Linked DNA regions of Homo sapiens: all the other regions are linked to region 1. The links are contacts of gene promoters, found by promoter capture Hi-C in blood cells and fetal thymus (Javierre and others, 2016). All regions are on one chromosome and are shown on one strand. Each heading gives the region's core, a stretch centred on a gene start or on the middle of the fragment in contact. The rest is flanking DNA. Distances are from core to core; before and after follow the strand shown. Region 1 holds the start of GZMK (granzyme K). Region 2 overlaps CDC20B (cell division cycle 20B). Region 3 has its middle 36 kb from the start of ESM1. Region 4 overlaps CDC20B (cell division cycle 20B).

Region 1 (3,164 bases), core at 420-2,919:
ATTGGAAATCAGTGGCTTGCTATTTAGAGATAGCAGAAGATCTCCCAGTTTGCAGGCTTCAAAACTTCCAATTTGTGATCAAACAGTTCCATTTAAATGGGGTAATCAGACAAAACCCCCAAAGCATAGAAAAGCAAATCAATTCAATTGTTCTGTTTAGATATAGACAATGCCTGGAGAGCAAACCATTACAGCTAAGAGAGATCTTTAAGTGAAAGAAAAGGAGAAGGCTCCATTTCAGCTTATTAGGTAAGAAACATAAGGAAACATATATACAAACAAAAAACAAAACCAAAAACCCAAGCAAACAAACAAAACAACAAATACCAAATTAGTTTTCTACTGGCATTTCCTTTTGTGATGGTTGCAGCATCCCAAGAGGGGTTTTGTGCTTTATTAGCTGAAGTAAGAGAATCCTAGGCTGAAATGGACTTTGGAAGGTTTTACTCTGTCTTCAGAAAAGCTTTCATTCTAAGTATCCTAGAAAATAACTCTCTCATTATCTTTCTCTTTCTAGAAGTCATCAATAACTTGTTTTTTTCCACCTAGGAAAGTTGTAAGTGGTGAGTAGCTACTGTTAGGTAGCTACTGTTAGGAGTGGCAAAGTAGGCTTCTCATGCGTATAATACTAATGATAATAGCTGCAATTTTTTTGTGCTTACTAAATGTGCCAAGCATGCTAAAATACTTAAACAGATACTATTTAATTCTCAAAACCCACAAAGCAGGTATGATATGATTATTACCCCTTTGTAAAATGGGGAAGCTCAGAGCACAGAGCAAGCTCAGGTTGTCTGATTTCCTTTTGAGCAGTGTGATCTAACAAGGTCAAGAGTACTGCTGCTTCAAGTATTACTGTTGCTGTGTTCCCTGCATTATACAGAGGACTTGAATTTGTCTAATGTCTTGCCTGGGAAAAGCAGCTCAGTTCTCTCTGAAAAGGAAAACCCAAGACAGAAAGCGTGGATGTGGAAGAAGGTAAATAAACGCCACCAGTTGGTCAGTAACCACAGAAGCTAACAGTAGATCAAATTCTCATTCAGGAGAGGTAAGCTTCTCTTGTACCTATAATAACTTTCAGAAAAAACACATGTCTGGAAAAGTGTGGAGGACTCACCGATATTGGCAGTGGGCTGCTGTCAGCACCCACTGTGGATCAATCAGAACACCTCCACAAACGTGATGTCCGCCATACTGGATGGAGGCCATAAATGGCCTGGAATGAGGTGACACTTCTTTCCCTCCAATAATTTCCATATTGAAACCTACAAAAGTAGACCAAAAGGTTTCACACAAAAGATCTAAACTACTGTTTCATGTAATTCTTCCAATGACAGTCACTATATTATTTTCAAAGCTTAAAAAACAACAATAACCCTACCTAAAAGCTACAATAATTTTACTGATGAAAAATTTGTATAATACATTACAGTTCAGAAAGATAGGAATGATTGTGAAAATAATTTTCATCTATAATATAACAATATAGTCAGTAGAAATTCATTTAATGTTTACATGTAGATATAGGAGATACTTACACACATGAGTCATATAAGCCCCAACTATTAGGAAAAACAGAGAAAAGGAAGAAAACTTAGTCATTTTAAAGATTTAGATTTAAGAAGCCCAGATGAAATGTGTTGATCCTGTGATGAAGGAAGAAGATTCTGAAGACTGAGTTTTGTTCTTGTAAGTTTTGACTTTCTCACCACAGGTGCTCTAGGGGTAAGATTTTTTTTCACACCTAGGTGTAAACGTTATGTATCAGTTTGGGGACTTTCAGGTCTGTGCTTTTAGCACTTTTTTGTTTTGTTTTGTTTTGAGACGGAGTCTCTCTCTGTCGCCCAGGCTGGAGTGCAGTGGCGCGATCTCGGCTCACTGCAAGCTCTGCCTCCTGGGTTCACGCCATTCTCCTGCCTCAGCCTCCCGAGTAGCTGGGACTACAGGCGCCCACCACCACATCCGGCTAATTGCTTTTAGCACTTTTTTGGGAGAGGTATGTATGCCATAAAGAACTCATATCTGGAGATACCATCTCTAATACCTGTATCAGAGTACTTATGCTATAAAGAAAATTTATACTATATGTGTATATAATATTTATAAATGAAAAATATCCATGCCATAAGAATGTAATGAAGTTGCAGACAGAGTTCAAAGATGTCCATTGCTCTCAAGCAATACTTACTATTTTTCCTGGCACAAAATGGTGCCTATCATATTTCATTCTTCTCTCTTTTTCATTTGGACATAGATTTATGATGAAGAGAGACATGGACCTTGCACAGATTATGGTTACTTCACAATGTGGCTTAGCTAAAGCCTGAGCACCAACCAGAGAAAACCATATGTTTTGCAGCAAACATCCCTACTCATGTCGTTTCTCTAAGTTTGCCCAAATTTGGTTAAATTTTAGTTACATTTTTGTGAGATTTCATAATGTTGTTAAAGGTGAACATTGGCAACTATTTTTGATTCAGAGTCTCTCTTTTACTCATTTTTAATTGAAAATGGCCATGTGTTTTTCCAGGGACTTAATAATAATGTCTTTTAAAAATAAAGGACTGCATTTTGTAATTCTTCCCAGGAACAGATGACAATGCATTGCCAGGCCTTCAATACAAAAGGTATTAGACTCAAGATTCTACAAGATTCTGTTTGTGCCAGACACTGATCAGCAGTGCAAATATAAAATGAATACAAACAGATCACGCATCAGAATGCCAATCACTTCCTAGTAACACTGATCAAAATTTGCATTAAATCAACAGATCTTTCTTTTAAGAGGTATGCATTTTATCTTCCATTCATTTTAGAAAGGAGAATTAAAATCCAGAGCTATTATGCTCGGCAGATTGCAAGAGACTCCTTTCAAATTGTTTTCTAGCACAAAGAGTAGGAATAATAAAAAATAATACTATAATTATGTATTATTCATTATAACTTAATAATATATAAGTAAAATACCTTATTTCCAAAATTCTTTTTATATGATCATTTATGGTTTCATGTCTATGTCTTTGAGGAAAGCAGGACAACTTATGTTACAATGGAAGAAATAAGTTCCAAGAGGCTAAGTAATTTGCCCAAGGCAACACAGCTTATGACCTAGACCAAATCACCTGCCTGACCTCCCTGTATGTTAAGTTGTATGTGAATGAGTA
Region 2 (3,263 bases), core at 641-3,140, 120 kb before region 1:
AGTGCTGAAGACACCGCCTGAGAAAGAGACCTTGACTCTAGGTGAGGTGCCCCAAACGCCACAGCCCCGTTTTGCAACGTGAATAAAAGATATATTCCTGAGAGAATCTTTGTCTTGTAGAACTAAGGAGTGTCACTTTGAGTCAACTCTTTTCTCTTTTTCTCCCTTTGAATAAGAAATTTCCAAGGTGGGGAGAAATGACACAAAAACAAAGGAAAGGTACTGTATGTGTTTAAAAACAAAAACAAAAACAAAACTTTAGACAAATTAAATTTTACAAAGTTAATTGTGCAAAGAACCGTTGGCCAATGGGCAACCAGAGAGCCACTCCATGTGGGGGCGGGCAGCATTTATGGATAGGAATTGGAAGTGCGTAGGAGCCGGCCTGATTGGCTACAGCTCAGTTCGCCTTATTTGCACGTGGTCTGATTAGTTGGCCGCCTGTGATTGACTGAAGCTCAGCTTCTGTGATTGGCGGAGACTCAGCTAAGTTAGGCTTTCAGTTAGTTTACATCCCAAGTTAGGTTGCAGTTTGAGATGTAGGGACTCATCCTACATCCTCAGGCAAAATTTAGCTTAATTTTAATATGTTTTTGAGACTTGCATTGGTTAGATGATTACTTTTGTAAAGATTGTATGAATGTATATGTATATATGTATATGTACACATACACACATATATATGTGCTTTTGTTTTGCAAAGTATAGAATTTTAATGACTGGTAAGGTTACTGGTATACAGAGTCAGAAAAAATTATGCGTTAGTAATGGAATAATCAGATGTGAAATGGAAGAAAAAGACAGAAGCAGGAGAGAATGAGAGGAAGAGAAAGTAAGAGGAAGGAAGCAAGAGAGAGGGATGAGGGGATGGATGGGGGGAGAGAGACAAAGAGAAAGAGAGAAGAGAGGAGGAGACAGAGGAGGAGGAGGAGGAAGAAAGAAGAAAGAAGAACCTCCAAGAGTAGTAGGGAAGAAGAAGAGGGAAGGAAAGGAGAGTGAGAGACAGTCTGATGCCTATGTTGGGGCAGAGATGGGGGAGTGGGCTCCAAACCACCAGTGTGATGGGCAGGATCCATGATCAACCTGCCAGAGCCCCGAAACACAAACTCTCTTTCTGAAATATGTAATTCTCATTTGGGCACAGACATTTTCATTCCCATCCTTCAGAAGCAAAATTTGCCACCTATCATCAGCTGATGTAATTCCCATTCTTTCTTTTGAGAATCCTAGGCAACATAATTCTTTTGACTATCAGCGTATTTATTAAGACAAATGTTAATAGAAGTGCCAACTCTTTTCAATGACATCAGACATGATGATGCATTGCAGTTCTGCAGATTGAAAGGGAGCCCAGATTTTTTTCAAATCAATGAAATTCCCATGTAACGACAGGCTTTAATACTGAAAGTATTTAATAACCGAGGAGGGAAGCAGTAGGAGATAAAGGGTTGTGAAAAACATTGTTATGACTATCTTCTGAAAGAAATCTTTTGTATCTCATTGCAATTGAGGGACAGTTTTGATGCTGATTGTTTTTGGAAGAATTTCTGGCTAAAATTAGGGGCTCCCTTTTACTTTCTAGGTTCTTAATTAATTTATTGATTTTTTAAAAAAGTATGACATTGTGTGAGAAATTCAGAAATCAGATATTAACAAAAAGGATTTTACAAGAAAGACCATTTTATTTTCTACTGAAGTTAATACTAGGGATTAATCAGATCTACTGGTTTCTCAGTGCTTTGCTAGTGGGGTTTCTTTCTTTTTGTTTTAGAAGAGCAGATACTGAAGATCCTCCCATTCCAAAGGGACATTTACAGAGAGGTTCATTTTCAGTCATGCTCTGTGGACAGAACCTGAGAGGTCCCTTCTTTCTTAGGCTGATGGACCTGACCTCTTTGTATATAACTGTGATGATTGTCAGTACTAGCCTCTGACTGCAACTTTTTCTTTCTCATTTGAAGTTCTGAGAGCTGGCTTTTTCTCCCCTGTACACTTTTACAAATAGCACAAGAAAGCAAGCATGCATAATTTCTCAGGACAAAGAGCAAGATCTAAAACTTTGACCAGCATTTCATATTTTTATCCTTCTTCTCCCTAAATGTAATATATATTGCTTAAATTTTGAATGTCCCAGTACTTAAGGTACTAGGCTCTAGGAACATTAGTGAGAATTTATCAAGCTCATGGTTGTCCAAATGAAGAAGAGATTGTCACATGGCAAAAGGCTAAGATTTTCCAATGGTCCCTTGGCTCCTGTGATGAACAAGTGATATGGCAGATATTTAGTTTTAGAGAATGACTTGACAGGTTTCCAGGGCAGTTGAAAGTCTGGTAAAGGGCTTTCTCAATCTTGAGAAGAGAGTAGATAGGAATAATATTGATGCAAGTAACATTGACCCTTCTATTACTTTAACTTAGAAAGTATTTCACTGATGCCATCTTAAACTATCTTTAAAACATCTTTCTGCAATAGAAAGGGGGAGAGAGGCAAAGTGATTTGCTCATGATTATGTAGTGAATGTCAATGCTGGCAAAGCAAGCATCCCATAATGTTTTCCTTGCAGGATGACCATAGCTCGGGCAAACCAGATACTCTTTCCACTATCATTTAAAACTATGGAACTGTTTCTATCCATTCTTCAAATGTGCAAATCTGGTTTTTTTTTTTTTTTTTCCATACAGAGATAAAGCATTCACACTGCTGCTGCAGCAAATGAAGTCAGGTCTTTAATCTTGGCACCTCTTCCCTGCTCTAGAGGCCACTGAGACAGCTTTCTCATTGAGTGACAACCTTATGAAGTCAGCAGTCTGGATAGGATTCTGTACTGCTCTCTGCAATGGACTTTGGAGCGACGAGAGCCTGGGCTTTTTCACTCTGTCCTGCTCTCTGCAATGGACTTTGGAGTGACGAGAGCCTGGGCTTTTTCACTCTGTCCTTCTGTGAAAGATGCCACAGCCAGACCTACAATCAAAGTGATTATCTTGTTTTAAAAACCAAATTCAAAGATAAATGTCTTTCTTGTAGGATCCCGCAAAGAACAACTGAAGACCCCCAGCAAAGGAATTTCTGAAACAAGTAACTCTGCTCTCCATTTTTGCAAGGCACCTCATGCAATGGACAGAGACTGGAAAGAAAGTGTTGCCTCAAAAGGGCAGGTAGGTAAAGAGAAAAAAACTGAAGATCCCACATCTAGAGAAGCTGAGACAACTTAGTTGCAAATGTAAGGGAAGAGTTGCTTAGTTCTCTTACCAATCAATAAGAA
Region 3 (3,285 bases), core at 293-2,792, 74 kb after region 1:
GGAGGATTTCCCCCACTACATCTGATGCAAACCTGACTTGGATGAAAAAGTGGTAAGAGACAGTAAAGAGGAGGACTGGTGTAAAACACATTATTACTATTTTAATAGCTGACAGCAGAATTTCCCTTAGGGAAGAAGCAAAAAATAGTGGATCCCCACAGCCTAGAGGTACTGACACCAAGGCTTTACGAAAGAGAGAAGAAGAATTCTGCATGAAGAAGGAAGGGAATTTGTCTCTCTCTTGGGAAGAGAGAAGGTCATTTGATCTCAGCCTAGTGATACAGTGCTGCTTCTCCAGCTGTCTATACAGCCTGTTACTTCCGGCATTCTGTTCTTCATGTGAACAGTTCCTACTTACATAATGACCTCTAGGCTAGAACTTCCTAGGTCAGTTATACACCAAGATCTAAGCATTTTAGAAACGGAGATGTTAGCAAGTTTATCTAGGCAATTAAAATAATGTTCCATTTCGTAGACTGAATAGGGTGGGAAAGATGAGACAGCAGAGGAAGAGAGGAACCAGCAAGATGTAGCAAGGCTGGGTTCAGGTAATGTGACCAGTCATGAAGCTCAAACCACTCACTGGTGGGTTAGCTGGGAACATTTCAAAGACAGTGATGGTTGTGATTTAATTTGCAGTTGTTTGTGTTGTTCCATTGCAAATGTGTTTTCCATCACCTTCAAACAAACCCAAAAGCTTCAGCAAAGTCTACCTTGCTCTCAAGCCCCTAGGATGAGTGAGGTTTTACTAGGTGGAACTCAGCAAAGGAGCTAATATTATGTCTGAGTGAACCCAGTACAACCAGAAGCAGTGTCCTAAAAAGCAAAGATGTGATTTTGAAAGGGCAGACATCTCGGAGATTGATTTAAAATTCTACAGGCTGGGAAATTTAGGGGTTCTAGGCACCTCCGATCTTGGCAATCTGATGCCAGAAAACACTCTTCTTCTGCTTGCAAAATGGGAGCAAAAACCCTGGGCCTTCAAGGTTCCTGTCATTCAACTATGCTACCATTTCTTCCTCCTTACTGGTCACCTACCAGCCTCCGGCTGTCTTCCCCTCCATTGCTGATGACTTGGACTCTTGGCTCACAGGTATCCTGTTAAATTGTCACCCTGGGTCACTTTATAACCTTGTGGACAATCCATCCAACACTGGGACCTCTCACAGCCACCACCGTCTTATCTACAATGCCTTCTCTTCTTTTTACCCAGTAAATCCACAGTCTACTTTGGACCAAAATTGCTCATAACTGTGTTACCTTCCAAATCACAAATTCAGATAATTTGCTGTCTGACTACAGTCTGTCCTCCTTTCAATCTGCCCAATTAATCACATCATGAATACTCTTAAGCCATATCGGGACCTTCAGTTTCCAATCCACTGGCCTCTTCACATCTCCACTTCCTTCCTTATTCATCTGGGATTTCATGGTACATCAATTTTGAAAATCACATCAAAACAAAACAAAACAGCTCTTGCCAATTTCTCAAATTTGTTTGGACCTCTGGCTTTTTGCTTCATTCATCTGACAAAACCCTCACACAGGAAACACTCAATTGTCCGGCCCTTCAGGTTGTCAATTGAGGAATAACTCCTACTTGAGATCTTTCTGTACATGGACTTTAGGTGTTGCTTTTAACTGATATAGTGTTGAAAATAGAGTTACACAATTGTGTGATCTAGGGTGGATGTTTAAATACCGCAATCCATATCAGTCATTATTTATATCCAAGCTGAATTTTTTTTTTTTTTGAGATGGAGTCTTGCTCGGTCACCCAGGCTGGAGTCCAGTGGCATGATCTTGGCTCTCTGCAACCTCCGCCTCCTGGGTTCAAGTGATTCTCCTGCCTCAGCCTCCCAAGTAGCTGGGACGACAGGCACCTGCCACCACCCCTGGCTAATTTTTAGTAGAGGCAGAGTTTCACCATGTTGGCCAGGCTGGTCTCGAACTCCTGACCTCAAATGATCCACTCACCTCGGCCTCCCAAGTGCTGGGATTACAGGTGTGAGCCACCGTGCCAGGCTCTGATCTAATTTTTTGATCTCACTTCCCAAGCCAGGCATCTCTCACATTCTCCATCCCTTTTTTTCTTACTTCTCTTTCTCCCTCAACACATCAAATAATTATCAAATCTTGTTGATTCTAAGTCTAAAATCACTCTCAACTTTCAACCTTTCTTCTTCCCTGCTGCTACTGCCATGGTTCAATTCTCTCATTTCTGTTACAGACAATGGAAATCACTTCCCAACTGGCTTTACTGCTTCCCATCTCTAGCCTTTCCATTTCTTCTTCATTTTTACAAAATGCACAACAGATTATGCTATTTCTGCTGCTAAAGTCTCTAATGAACCACCAGTACTTGCAGTATTCTTAGTGAAGCTTAAAATCTTTTACATTCAGTCCCCTAGAAGTCTTTCCAGACCTACCTCCTACTCTCTTCCTCACACACTTTTCACCCTGGCTGCAACACATGATTCTGTGTTCCTAAAGTACACACTGGACATCAGCACTCTCCTTGTCACTGCTCACATTGTTTCCTTGATGATGAAGTCTCATAGTCTTCATCTGTTCTCACTCTACTTAGCCATCAAAACATATATCTGTATATATACATATATGAATATGAATATATATACACACACACACACACACACACACATACCTAGATTCTCTGGTGTACATATGTGCATATACACTCAGTGCGTGCTGGTAAATGTCTAACAACCAGTTCTCAGGGGGAAAAATCCCCAACTAGTTTTGTATGATGATTTCTATGGTATAAATATTCTACCATGGATGATTACAGCTACCTGTATGCCACTGGACTTAGGGCTGGGAAGAGACACATACCTTGGCCTTCTTGAGCCAGTAGAAGCTGCATCCAGCACACCATTATTATGTACATTTATATAGACATATATTTACATATATACATCCAAGCAGATCTTTCTTTTGAGTTCAACTTTTAAATTCTTGTTATTTTTATTTTTTTTAACTTTTATTTTAGTTTCCGGGGTACATGTGCAGGTTTGTTATGTAGGTAAACTCATATAATGGTGGTTTGTTGACGGATTATTTCATCACCCAGGTACTAAATCTAATATTGGATAGTTATCTTTTCTGTTCCTTTCCTTCCTCTCACCCTCCACCCTCAAGTAGGCCCTAGCGTCTGTTGTGTCCTTCTTTGTGTTCATAAGTTCTTATCATTTAGTTCCCACGTATAAGTGAATTGGTTTTCTGTTTCTGCATCAGTTTGCTAAGGATGGTAGCCTCCACCTCCAT
Region 4 (3,152 bases), core at 328-2,827, 100 kb before region 1:
ACGAAGTCTACATGTACTAATAATGGTAGATGAATCTGCCAAGTTCTTTAAATGGCTCTAAATAAATATATTTCAGTGTAAATAATAAGCATTATTGCTTATTAGACTGTGAGTGTTGACACTAGATTCTATTCCACTTTTCATTTTTGAACTTTTAAGGATTTTCATGGTTCCATGTTTCCATTTTCCAGCTAACCATGGGGATGGTATTATTCTTTTCCCCCTACCTATAAAGTTGTTTATTTGAACATGTTTTCATGTGGCTGTATAATTATACTAATTTGAAGTGCTTTTCTTATAGATCTGAATATCCTAGATTGGAGTTTTCAGAATCTTGTTGCCATAGCCCTGGGCTCTGCTGTATACATCTGGAATGGGGAGAACCACAATGGGATTGAAAACATAGACTTAAGTCTCACTTGTAACTATATCTCTTCTGTGTCCTGGATAAAAGAGGGAACTTGCCTGGCAGTTGGCACCAGCGAGGGAGAAGTGCAAGTACTGGCCAGTTTTTTTTTTTCTCATCATGTTCTCTGTGTATTATTACACTATAATTGACTTTTAATAACAAGTTAATGTAAAATAGAGAAACTAGGTGTGGCTCTTGAAGTATGGGGAATAAAAGGAGATGACATTCCGCTTTTTTTTTTTTTTTTTTACTGAATGGTTTTTAATGAAAACGTAAGGATACTCTGGTTAGTTTCCACCACAATCTTTCTGTCATATTTAAAAATATATTTTCTCTGAAACTAAAGTTGGGCTTGTAGAATCTCCAGTTTTGGAGCTTTGGAGAGAGGAAGATACTTTCAGTTCTCCTTTTCACCTGAAGCCGTGATTAAGAGTACAGTTATAGAAAATGAGTGAATTTTTTTTTCTGATAGGCTCCTTGAGATGGGGATTTATCAAATTTCCATCAATCTATCTGATTTCTCATGTATCATTATTATTGTTTATTACCAATAGAATAAACAATATCACTCATGTGCAAATGACTTAGGAGGGCCACAGATGGCTCTCTCACTGCTTTCTCATCTCTGCAATGATAATGAATGCTGTGAAGTCTATGTCATGATTTCTTCTTACACCAAAGTTGTCATTCCCCATGTGGATCAGAATATTATCTGTAGCTCGCAGGAAGGGAGTCTCTTAGCAGTAAGTGGAATTACTGATTCTAGGAAGTGTCCGGGTACCCACATCTTATTAATACATTTGTTGGTAACTGTGGGTAGATTTCCAGATTTGGAATTCTCACAATTTAGAAGGAGCTAGAAATGTGGTAATAATTCTCAACCCTTGGCTGCACATTGAATTCACCTGGGGAGCTTTAAAACAACTGCCATATATCCCCAGGCTCTACTCTACCAACTAAATCAGCATCCATAGTGTTATAGACTCCCCAGCTGATCCTAATACACAGTCAGAATTGAGAACTGCTGGCTAGATGTGCTGGGTTTTCACTTAGTACAAAAACTAACAATATCAGCAGTAATTGGCTCTCAGGCCTTTGAGAAGACAGTGGGCTGTGAAAACTCCAATGCTACATAACTCTCCTTGTTCATTTTTTCAGTTATGGGATGTGGTAACTAAAAAGCGGCTGAGAAATATGCTTGGTCATTTGTCAGTAGTTGGGGCTCTGAGCTGGAATCACTTTATCCTCAGCAGGTAAGAAGCGTCTTGTTGGAGACAGTTATGTTTGTATTAACAATTGATTATGGGGCCTGAGTAAACAGTTGTAATATTCAAAACCTAAACCAATCAAAAATAAAACAAAATAGGCCATTGGACTTAATATCAGGTATGATCCCACCCTCTCAGGTATTCAGATCTGCTGGTCATGTAAGTGTCTTGGTGGCCACATGTATCATGTGTGCCTTCTGCATGGGATGCACTAAATTGTTCAGATAAAATGTGAAAATCCCTTCAAGCAAAAGGTTTCTCTGTGCTAAGTAATAGGTACTAAAGGGATATTTTGCTGAAATCAAGTATTTATTGCTGTCAGTATCTATACTATGGAATATGTTAAGCTCTCTGGGACACATTTCCAATTCATAGACCCACAGAAATTAGAGCAGAAGGAACCTCATAGATTATCCTGTTCAGTAGTTCTCAAACTAGAACATGTATCAGAATCACCTGGAGAGCTCCTCAAAATGCAGATTGCTGGCTTCACTTGAGGGACTTCAGATTCATTAGGTCTTGAGGGGCTGATAATTGGCATTTCTCATTTCCCAAGTGATGCTGATGATACATCCCTTTGAGAACTAGTGATTTAGTTTAACTGCTTCTTTTTAACCAGAAAAATTAAGGGACTTTTTCCTATGAGCCTACATAACTGGTCTAAATATATATTGCTTTTAATCATAGCCATTCATTTTCATATTGTAGTTCTTAAGGTTAAGGTAGACTTAAGTTAGATAAATCCCAAAGACTGTTTTTTTTTTTTTTTTTTTTTGACATGGAATCTCACTCTGTCACCTAGGCTGGAGTTCAGTGGCGTGATCTCAGCTCACTGCAACCTCCACCTCCCGAGTAGCTGGGACTACAGGCGCCCACCACCATGCCTGGGTAATTTTTGTATTTTTAGTAGAGATGGGGTTTCACTATGGTGGCCAGGATGGTCTTGAACTCCTGACCTTGTGATCCACCTGCCTCGGCCTGCCAAAGTGCTGGGATTACAGGTGTGAGCCACCGCGCCTGGCCATCCCAAAGACTTTTAAAATGTATTTAAGTAATCTGATGTAAACTTGAGACTTGAATATCTTGTGTTTTTGGCCGGTCTTAAAACAACTTAGTTATTGCAGTCAATTATGTACTCAAGCTCCTTTTCTAATCTGCATTGTTAAAATTTAGTTTCATTATCCACGAGGAAAATGAGCAGATCCTTTCTTATAATAATAGCAGCTAACATTTTCAGACTACTCTGTGCCAGGCACTGTGCTATACTTTTTATGTGTGTAATTTCATTTTAATCACTGCAGTAACATGATAAGGTGGTCTCTTATCCTCAATTTTGTTTTTTCAAATTAAACTAAGACACTAGCCTGAAGTCACATGGTTAGTAAGTGATGGAGTTGGAATAACCCAGCTGGTCTGGCTCCAGAGCCCATATTGTTAATCACAATGCTGTTCAGCATTGCATAGTTTTAAACAAT

The links. The method cuts DNA at HindIII sites, captures the fragments that hold promoters and counts their contacts. A CHiCAGO score of 5 or more calls a contact.
Region 2: a contact is called between a fragment that was not itself captured here and the fragment with the promoter of GZMK in region 1, in 4 of 17 cell types (total CD8 T cells, activated CD4 T cells, naive CD8 T cells and 1 more). The highest score is 7.8, in total CD8 T cells.
Region 3: a fragment that was not itself captured here is called in contact with the fragment with the promoter of GZMK in region 1 in 1 of 17 cell types (total CD8 T cells); the score reaches 5.0 in total CD8 T cells.
Region 4: a fragment that was not itself captured here is called in contact with the fragment with the promoter of GZMK in region 1 in 6 of 17 cell types (total CD8 T cells, activated CD4 T cells, naive CD8 T cells and 3 more); the score reaches 7.6 in total CD8 T cells.

The regions. Positions count from the first base shown.
Region 1 is chr5:55,022,761-55,025,924 of GRCh38, reverse strand. It overlaps GZMK (granzyme K), which reads right to left and starts at 1,669. Exons shown (of 5, transcript NM_002104.3): 1 at 1,539-1,669; 2 at 1,118-1,265. The coding sequence starts at 1,602. It overlaps LOC102467081 (a long non-coding RNA gene), which reads left to right and starts at 1,756. Exons shown (of 3, transcript NR_104662.1): 1 at 1,756-1,996. The HindIII fragment of the contact is 1,874 bases long and covers 1,360-3,164 here.
Region 2 is chr5:55,143,406-55,146,668 of GRCh38, reverse strand. CDC20B (cell division cycle 20B) reads left to right here. Exons shown (of 12, transcript NM_001170402.1): 3 at 1-41; 4 at 3,026-3,156. Among named protein-coding and RNA genes, the nearest start is that of GPX8, 15 kb to the left of the region's middle. The HindIII fragment of the contact is 3,795 bases long and covers 1-3,263 here.
Region 3 is chr5:54,948,380-54,951,664 of GRCh38, reverse strand. No RefSeq gene overlaps it. Among named protein-coding and RNA genes, the nearest start is that of ESM1, 36 kb to the left of the region's middle. The HindIII fragment of the contact is 1,685 bases long and covers 700-2,384 here.
Region 4 is chr5:55,125,767-55,128,918 of GRCh38, reverse strand. CDC20B (cell division cycle 20B) reads left to right here. Exons shown (of 12, transcript NM_001170402.1): 7 at 302-498; 8 at 1,568-1,662. Among named protein-coding and RNA genes, the nearest start is that of GZMA, 25 kb to the right of the region's middle. The HindIII fragment of the contact is 5,522 bases long and covers 1-3,152 here.